Regions from separate parts of the Homo sapiens genome. Here region 2 is linked to region 1. The links are contacts of gene promoters, found by promoter capture Hi-C in blood cells and fetal thymus (Javierre and others, 2016). All regions are on one chromosome and are shown on one strand. The core of a region is centred on a gene start or on the middle of the fragment in contact, and the rest is flanking DNA. Distances in the headings are between cores, read along the strand shown. Region 1 holds the start of PTK2 (protein tyrosine kinase 2). Region 2 overlaps TRAPPC9 (trafficking protein particle complex subunit 9).

Region 1 (4,842 bases), core at 800-3,299:
TCGTGAGGCTAGCTTGGGCTTAAGGGGGGAAAATGAAAGCAGCATGGCCTCTTGAGGCCTAGGCTTGGAATTTGTACAATGTCACTTGTGACACATCCCATTGGTCAAAGCAAGTTACAAGATCCCATCCACATTCAAGGGGTGAATAAATTCCACCTCTTCTTGGGAAAAGTGTCAAAGAATTGATGGCCATTTTTAGTCTACTATGCTAAGTGCAGCCCCTTCCCCCAAAGTTATCCTTAATGCAGTCCCTTTGTGCCTCCACTCTCCTCTTTTAATTCCCATGCTTTTCTTATCCTTTTAATAATAAGCTCTCACTTCACATCACCCAAAGCTTCGTTCATTCACTTGACAAATACTTACTGTGTGCCAGGACCTATTAGTGAACAAAACAAAGCCCGTGCTCTAATGAATCTAAGATTCTAGTGGAGAGAGCGGACAATCAAGAAATAAACAAGAACACAGTGTTGGGCTATGGTGAACAATAGGTGCTTTGGAGAACAACAGAGCAGACTAAGTGCGGACTGTGTGTGAGGATAGCAGGGCAGTGGGTGGTTCCTATTATATGAAGTGGTCGGCTGTATCAATGAGGTGATATATAAGCAGGGTATTGAACGAAGTGAGGAGCAAGAAGTTCCAGGCAGAGCAAATAGCACGCGCAAAGGCCTGAGGCTGGCATGGAGAGGCAATTCCTTACAATTTCATATGTAGTAAAAAGTAACAAAACCCAGAAAAACACCAACCTTAATACATCTCATTAAAGAACAATACAACCCAAACATTTAAATATGGTAAAATCTTGATAAGCAAAAGCTTTTTATTTTACTTCATTTTTACTTTTATAAAAGCTCCTAATGCAATGACGTGTGTCACCTCTCTGGGCTTCAGGGTGTTCACCTTTCAAAAGGCCTCGGTGCCTGTCTGTCCTGCTTCCTGGCTTGTGGTTAGCATCAAAATGACACCATAAAAATGAAAGTTGCAGCCTTGAGGGTTCTTCTGGTTTCATTTCCGACCACAAGGTTGCCAGAGTGACTTTTTTTTTTTTTTAAATAACACAAATCAGTTATCACTTCCTGCTTAAAGCCCTCCAAAGGTTCCCTGTTGCCTAAAGAATAAACTCCAGGCACCTAAGCAAGCCCCACGCAGCCGTCTGCATTTTTCAATCCCTCCAACCTCGCCTTTTGCTATTTCCCCCACCCCACCTACGGCACGTTCCGGTCATAACCAACTAGCTCCTCGCTGAAACTGGCTCACACCGCGGAAGCCCGGGTCGGTGTCGGGGCGAGCCTTCCCTCCTTTTCCTGGAGCCCGTCTCAGGTCTGTAGCCCTCGGGAGGGATTGCAGGGCTCGTTCCCTGCTGGCGTTCATTTAGGTAACCTGTCTACCTCCAGTGGACTTCTAAGTCCCTTTCATGATTTTTCATCTTCCAAAATCAAATAATGGCCCAGCCCAACTTAGCTATAATGCCATGAAAAGAATCTCTGAGCCTCAGTTTCCTTGTCTGCAAAAAGGGCCCAGGAACCGCTCGTTAGGGTCGGTGTGGTGCCTGGAGAGTGCACTGCAAGGCCCGGGGCCCGCAGCGGGTGCCCGACAGCGGGCGTCCAACTCTGGGGGCGGGGCCGCAGGGCCGCTCAGGAGGGAGGTTCTCCAGAGGGGACCCCTTCGGGATTTGGGGGCAGGGAAGGAGATGGGGAGGACTTTCCCGAAGTCCGTCTAATCCCGCTGGCGGAGAGCGAGGCAGGTGGGACCCCAGGATGTCCGCTCGGCGGGGCGACCCCGGCCACCCCCGAGACCAGGGCTTTCCTCGTCCGGCCGCCACGCCCGCGCGCAGCCTCGGGCCACCCCGAAACCCCGGCGCGGTCACTACAGGACAAATTACGCGAGCAGAGCCTAGCGGCGCGCTGGGCATGCGCGGGGGCGGCGCGCATGCCCAGTCCCCCCGAGAGGCGGGAACTCCGGACTGAGACCGGGTCGGGCGTGCGCTGCCGAGAGAGGACGCGCGCCTCAGCCGGCTGCCGCGCACGCGCGCGGGCCCGCGCCGACGCAGCACGGCCTCGAGGGCGCGAGCCCGCGCCGCCGCCGCCGCCGCCGGTCCCGGACCACTGTGAGCCCGCGGCGTGAGGCGTGGGAGGAAGCGCGGCTGCTGTCGCCCAGCGCCGCCCCGTCGTCGTCTGCCTTCGCTTCACGGCGCCGAGCCGCGGTCCGAGTGAGTGCGGGGCGCCGGGCGCGGGGCGCGGGTCGGGGGCTGGGCGGGCTCCTTCTGTGCAGCGGTCGTGGGCTGGGCCGCGGCCCTGAGGGCGGAGGGGCAGAGCGGGGCCGCCCAACCAGTCCCGGGGCGGATGCGGCGGAGACCGGCCCCTCCCGCGCCCCCGGCCCGGGTTCTGGGAGGAGGGGAGGCCGGTGGCCGTGAGGAGGTTGGGGGCCCTCGCGGAGGCCGAGAGGCTTAAGGAGGTCAGGGGGCGCGCTGGGAGGCGGGGGTTCGGGGCGCTGGGTGGTCGGGAGGCTTGGGGAAGACTGGGAGGCTGAGGGACGTGGGGAGGCCGGGAGCTCGAGGAGGTCGGGGGTTTTGGGGGCGCGCGGGGAGGCCAAGGGGTTCGGGGAAGACAGAAAGGCTGGGGGACGTGGGGAGTCCGGGAGACGTGAGGAGGAAGGGGGGGGCGGCTTTCGAAAAGGCCGGGCGCGCGGAGAGGCCGAGGGGCCTGAGGAAGACGAGGAGGCCGGGGCTCTGGGGGCGCGCAGGGCGGACAGAGGCGCGGGGAGGACGGGCCGGCCTCCGCCGGAGCGGACCCAATGCCTGAAAAACAAAAGGGGAGAGGCAGGAGGAGGAAGAGGGAAATCGCAGGGACGTCGGCAGGGTTCGCCCGGACGCGAGAGGGAGGCTCGCGACGGCCCGACCTCCGTCCCCCGGGCGCGGCCTCGCGGGCAGCCAAGGGTGGGCTCCGAGCGGCCTGCCGGTGCCCGAGCCCCAAGCCCGCCGTGTCCCCGAACGCAAACCCTCAAGTTTGGTAGAGCCCCGTGGGCTTCTTGGCGGGAGCCCTGGAGCCCTCACTGAAGTCCTCACTGGAGTCATTGTGCTTCCCAAGTTTTCTCCTCTTCCCCGCCCCCAGCCCCCGACTCTGCCGCGGTGGCTTAGGCGCAACTGTTTGCCGAATTTCTCTCTGGGTTCCTTGTGTAGCGGCATCCTGTTCTTTCTTAGAAGAAGGGGTGTGTGTGTGTGTGTGTGTGTGTGTGTGTGTGTGTGTGAATTGGTTTCATTTAATTGCAGAATTTTGTAGCTAAATTCAGTGAGGGTAAAGTTTCTTTTTTTTTTTTTTTCCGAGTCATTTCAACAGTGTCTCATTCTTGCATAGTTAGCCTGCAGCTGGGTTTTTGGCAATGAGACTAAGATAATAGTAATATTGTAGTAATTATGGGAACTGGTTATACATTCAAGCTGAAAGCTGAAGGCAGTGCAAGAGTTTGGGGATTTGTATTTAAGACTTAACCATCGCTAGGATTTTTACTTAGAATGTAAACGTTTTCATGGCTGGAAAAACAGACCAGTACTATTTGAAATGAAATACCAGAGCCTCAACCTTAATATTTTATTTGGGAAACGGGTAATGAAAATGATGTCTTCGAGAGTTGAGCACTCCGTCCCATATTTGAAAACTTATGAGCAGTGCGATGCAAGCACACGGATGAACTAGTTACAAGACACATAAAAGTAAACTAGCATTCAACGTATTTTTGTTGGGGTACAGTATAGATAATATTTTCATCCAGTTATACTAGCCAATTAATTAGAAAAGCCCTATGATATTCAAACAAGGAACATTTTAAGGATGTTTGTGTCCCAATATCTTTGTGTTTTGTATTTGTGGTTATCCTTGGTGGGGAAAAACAGGCTGAACCTACCATCATTTTGAACCTTCTTGTTTATTAAACTGCAGAAACAACAAGATCAATATTACAAGGTTTTCCTTTAAAGAATTTCAGGTCACTATCAAATAATCTAGTTTAATAATGAACACAGGCACAGATTATTTAAAACACATGCTTCCTTTATAAGGGAGCCGACAATCACCTAAGACTTCAGTGTAGACGCTGATTAGAAGGACCCATACATCATTCAGTGGTGATGCATCAAGAAGCAAGTCATTGGTTAAATAAAGACATGGAAATCAAAACTCCATGTTTACGGTTTGGGGCAAAGAATACTGGGGCAAACTCTGAGAGGAGATGGGACTTAAAAAGCCTTATTATTTGAGGCTGGAAGCCCATTGAAAGTGAATAATGTTAGATTAGGAGTGAAGTTCCATGAATCCAGCAGTGAAATTGTGAGGAGGCAGTGAGGATCATTAAAACGTTTTATACTAAAATGTTTTCTGAAAAGCACCATGCTTCTTGATGGAAATTACATAACTTACTCCCTCAGTCCTCAAAATCATGTTCTCCAGCTAGTCAGATAACTGTTCTTTCTAGGGAGTTGGAGAAATTGTCTAAGAAAATAGTTTTTTTTTTTTTTTTTTTGAGACGGAGTCTCACCCTGTGGCCCAGGCTGGAGTGCAGTGGTGCGATCTCGGCTCACTGCAAGCTCCACTGCCCGGGTTCATGCCATTCTCCTGCTTCAGCCTCCCAAGTAGCTGGGACTACAGGCGCCCGCCACCACGCCCGGCTAATTTTTTGTATTTTTTAGTAGAGACGGGGTTTCGCCGTGTTAGCCAGGGTGGTCTCGATCTCCTGACCTCATGATCCGCCCACCTTGGCCTCCCAAAGTGCTGGGATTACAGGCGTGAGCCACTGCGCCTGGCCTGAAGATCCTGTTGTTTTAAAGGTAGCCTCTTTAAAAAAAAAAGATTA
Region 2 (4,842 bases), core at 876-3,375, 550 kb after region 1:
GTTGTGATCTTGGCTCACTGCCTCCTCCACCTCCTGAGTTCAAGCAATTCTCCTGCCTCAGCCTCTGGAGTAGCTGGGACTGCGGGTGTGTGCTACCACTCCTGGCTAATTTTTGTATTTTTAATAGAGATGGGGTTTTGTCATGTTGACCAGGCTGGTCTCTAACTGCTGACCTCAAGTGATCCTCCCGCCTCTGTCTCCCAAAGTGTTGGGATTACAGGTGTGAGCCACCGTGTCTGGCCGAGATGATACTTCTAAAATAAGGCCCTTTGTTACCTGCGGTGGGCCGCGCTCTCCTCCTCTGTAGAATGAAGGCTTCGGTGTTTCTCAGCTTCTGTTAAACCTGTGCCTACTTTTGAGAAACATGAGCGCTCCAGTCTCCCCCGCTCAGTATTTTGATATGTCCTCCGAGGGGTTTTATGCCTCTTTGTTGGAAGGTGATGTGATTTTGGTTCTTTCGAAGGTGGTTTTTGTGTGCAGAAAAGACTCTTTAGGGAATCGTTGTGGGGAAAGGGCAGGAGAGAGTGGGGCGTCGTCCTTGAGAGCGTGAGCACTGGAGTCAGGGACTTGGGCTGAGTCACACACATGTAATATACTTGTGAACCGTTTAGATCCTGGGCAGAAGCAAGACATGTTGGGAGGCTAGGGTTTCCTTTTTTTAAAATTTAATTTTGTTCATACTTCTCTATCCATGTGTATTTTTGAAGTCTGTAGAGGTGGGGTTGTGATGTCCAGGATAGCCCCCGACACACAGTCCTCCTCCTCTCCGTGCAGGTGAGAAGCTTGCCATTAGAATTTCACAGAGGTCTTATAGCAATGTCACTTTAATCTTAGTGTCACCTGGGAGGGTTTTACTGCCACGATCTCTGCAGTCAGGCTTTGGTGACCTGAAGGTTATGCAGTTTTGGGCTTCCTATTTAAGAAAAAGAAAACAAAATTAAAAATGCAAAATTAGATAGAGGGCCATGGAAGGGGCCTGAAGCTGAACCCCATTAGCTCATGGTACAGCTGCCTCTGGCCATGGGGACCATGGCCAAATCCCCTCAGGAAGTGTCAGCCCACTGATGGGGACAGTGGAGGTGTGTATCGAGGCATCTTTTTCTTATTTGATACAGAGAGCTCATTTAATCTCCCTAACCTTTAAAAAAATTAGACTTTTTATTTGAGACTATAGTAGTTGTAGCTCCATGTGCATTTGTCAGAAATAATACTGAGGGATCCTATATACCTTTTGCCCAGTTTCCCCCCGTGGTGCCATGTTACAAAACCACAGTATGTTATCACAACCAGAATGTTGACTTGCTGACACCTTGAGGTATGTGTTACTATCCTCATTTTTATTCACAATGAAACTAGGGTTCAGGGAAGCACACAGGCTTGCTCCAGGTCACCCAGATCGTGCGTGTAGAGCTGGGAGTTGAATATCGGCCCTGACTTCCAGGCAGTGGGATTTCCATCATGACCGTCTGTAGGCTGGGGGCAGCATTCATTGGATTGTTCATTTGTTTGTTTGTTCACTAATCCCTTCAACAAACATGTATTGAGGATCTCCTATGAGCCAGATTCTTTCACGTGGGTCATCTAATTTAATTTTTCCCCAGCTCTGGGGAATCAGGTAATAACGTTTTCTTTTTATATCTGACAAAATTGGCTCAGAGAGGTTATGGCAACTCTCCCATTTATAAAGGAAAGGTGGTATATTTGTGTAATCTCTCCTTTTATGTTAGGCACAATGCTAGGCCCTTTACATTCGCAACCTCCTCAATCTAGATACAGTTTTATAAGGCAAGTTCTTTTTCTTTTAATTCTTTTTTTTTTTTTTTTTTTTTGAGATGCAGTCTGGCTCTGTCGCCCAGGCTGGAGTGCAGTGGCGCCATCTGGGCTCACTGCAAGCTCTGCCTCCCTGGTTCATGCCATTCTCCTGCCTCAGCCTCCCAAGTAGCTGGGACTACAGGTGCCTGCCACCACGCCGGGCTAATTTTTTGTATTTTTAGTAAAGATGGGGTTTCACCATGTTAGCCAGGATGATCTCGATCTTCTGACCTTGTGATCTGCCTGCCTCAGCTTCCCAAAGTGCTGGGATTACAGGTGTGAGCCACTGCGCCCCGCCTCTTTTTTTTTTTTTTTTGAGACGGAGTCTCACTCTGTCACCCAGGCTGGAGTGCAGTGGCGCAATCTTGGCTCACTGCAGCTTTCACCTCCCGGGTTCCAGTGATTTTCCTGCCTCAGCCTCCTGGGTAACTGGGATTACAGGCACGTGCCACCACACCCGGCTAATTTTTGTATTTTTAGTATAGGTGGGGTTTCACCATGTTGGCCAGGCTGGTCTCGAATTCCTGACCTCAAGTGATCCGCCAGCTTCGGCCTTCCAAAGTGTTAGGATTACAGGCATGAGCCACCATGCCCGGCCAAGACAAGTTCTATTATCACCACTATTTTGTAGCTGAGGAGTTCCAGGGAGCCCGGAATTCAAATCCAGATGTGATTGCATGGTGGATTTTTCTTAATATCCTGTTGAGGGGATGGGGGAGCAATTACACACGTGTTTATTCATTCACTCAACAGACATTTTTGAGCACTGACTCTTACTACTCCTGGTTAGGTGGTGAGAATAGAAAGACAAGAAACAGCCCCATTTCTGTAGAAGCTCCATGCTGAGGCCAAGGGACTGAAGGTCAACAGTTACAGCATTATGATCAGAGCTGCGACAGCCACGTGTAGAGCCCTAAGACCTGTTGATGCCACGGCTTTCCTTGGGGCTTCCCCTGCCTCTGGGTAGTGAAGGTCACAGTCACTGCCTCCCAGGGTAGGCTCTCAGCACTCAGGACTCTGTGTCTCACAGCCTCATTTCTTCTCTCTGAACAGGGACTTCAAAATGAGCGTCCCTGACTACATGCAGTGTGCTGAGGACCACCAGACGCTGCTCGTGGTGGTCCAGCCTGTGGGCATCGTCTCCGAGGAGAACTTCTTCAGGATCTATAAGAGGATTTGCTCTGTGAGTCAGATCAGCGTGCGGGACTCCCAGCGAGTCCTCTACATCCGCTACAGGCACCACTACCCACCCGAGAACAACGAGTGGGGTGACTTCCAGACCCACCGCAAAGTCGTGGGCCTCATCACCATCACAGACTGCTTCTCGGCCAAGGACTGGCCACAGACCTTTGAGAAGTTCCACGTGCAGAAGGAGATCTACGGCTCCACACTGTATGACTCCCGGCTCTTTGTCTTCGGGCTGCAGGGGGAGATCGTGGAGCAGCCGCGCACCGACGTGGCTTTCTACCCCAACTACGAGGACTGCCAGACGGTGGAGAAGAGAATCGAGGACTTCATCGAGTCACTGTTCATCGTGCTGGAGTCCAAGCGTCTGGACAGAGCCACAGACAAGTCTGGGGATAAGATCCCCCTTCTCTGTGTCCCGTTTGAGAAAAAGGACTTTGTAGGACTGGACACAGACAGCAGGTAAGCTTACCTAGAGACCCAGGCCCCTTGGCTTCCCTGCATCAGAAAGGGAAAGCACAGGGCAGAATTTCATTGCAGCAAGGAGTAGAAAGGTGTTGTCCATTGGTTTTTAAAACTAATGACTTTCTGTCAGAATCTGTTTGAGTGCTGCTAAAAAAACCAACCAAACAAAAACCAGTGACTTTTAAAGACAGAGACAGCCTTTGGTTGGGGGAGTCCTTTAGAGTTGTCTTGTACACTCCCCTCTTTTTAGTGGGGCTCCCCTCGTGGGACTCCTGGAGCTCTGTCCCATACAGCAGCCACAGCCAGTTGTGGCTTTTGGGCACTAGACACGAGGCTAGTTTTAGTTGAGATGGGCTGTGAATAAAACCCACGCCAGATTTTGAGACTTACTTCTGAAAAAATAAACTTTCTTGCTAATTTTTTTTTGAGACAGAGTCTTACTCTGTCTCTCAGGCTGGAGTGCAGTGGCGCGATCTTGGCTCAGTGCAACGTGCACCTCCCGGGTTCAAGTGATTCTCATGCCTCAGCCTCCCAAGTAGCTGGGACTACAGGCAGGTGCCACCATGCCTGGCTAAGTTTTGTATCTTTAATAGAGACAGGATCTTGCCACGTTGGCCAGGCTGGTCTTGAACTCCTGGCCTTGAGTGATCTGCCTGCCTTGGCCTCCCAAAGTGCTGGGATTACAGGTGTGAGCCTCTGTGCCTGGCCAACTTTCTTGCTAATATGTTTTATACAGATTACATGTTGAAATGATAGTATTTTACATATCTTAGGTTAAATAAACTATATTTTAAAAATCAGTATCAACTGTTTCATTCTTACTTTTAAAAATGTGGCAACTAGAAACTGAAATGTACTTACGTGGCTTGCATTTTATTTCTGTTGGACAGCACTGTGCTAGAGCACAGTTTGAACAGTTTTATTCAGTCTCGTCCCTTTGGTTCACAGATGAGAGGGTGAATCTGGAGAGGTAAGGGCTAGGTCCTAGCTGAGCTAGAAGTAGAGCCCACGTCTCCGGATTGCCAGGCTGTGCACCCTGCGTATGTGGCTACTTTTTCCCTCCTGATGGCCACAGTGTCGAATTCCTCACTTACAAAGCAGCCAAGCATGGATATCAGGATGCCAGAAATACCACCTGGGAGCTCCTAAACAGCTACCGTATACAAATGAAAAGTATGTCTGTTCTCTCTGTGTACAAGGAGTGTTGGATAGAGCAGGAAAAGGTCAGCTTCCCATCTTGCCTGTTATTAAGTCAAAAACTTTATTTCAAATCAAAATTGCAGATGAGCTCTTCCTTGCCACTTCCTTCCACTCTCTGCTTGCTGCTGTGTCTTGCCATGGTGGCTGTTCTGCAGAGCTGGATGAGATGCAAGCCTAGGC

What was found. Contacts are between HindIII fragments. The CHiCAGO score rates a contact against its expected background, and 5 or more counts as called.
Region 2: a fragment that was not itself captured here is called in contact with the fragment with the promoter of PTK2 in region 1 in 1 of 17 cell types (erythroblasts); the score reaches 5.5 in erythroblasts.

The regions. Positions count from the first base shown.
Region 1 is chr8:140,998,489-141,003,330 of GRCh38, reverse strand. PTK2 (protein tyrosine kinase 2) reads left to right here and starts at 2,049. Exons shown (of 36, transcript NM_001352702.2): 1 at 2,049-2,206. RefSeq lists silencers at 1,615-2,034, 2,055-2,384. The HindIII fragment of the contact is 6,005 bases long and covers 816-4,842 here.
Region 2 is chr8:140,449,407-140,454,248 of GRCh38, reverse strand. TRAPPC9 (trafficking protein particle complex subunit 9) reads left to right here. Exons shown (of 23, transcript NM_001160372.4): 2 at 2,866-3,459. The coding sequence starts at 2,876. Among named protein-coding and RNA genes, the nearest start is that of TRAPPC9, 5.9 kb to the left of the region's middle. The HindIII fragment of the contact is 2,682 bases long and covers 785-3,466 here.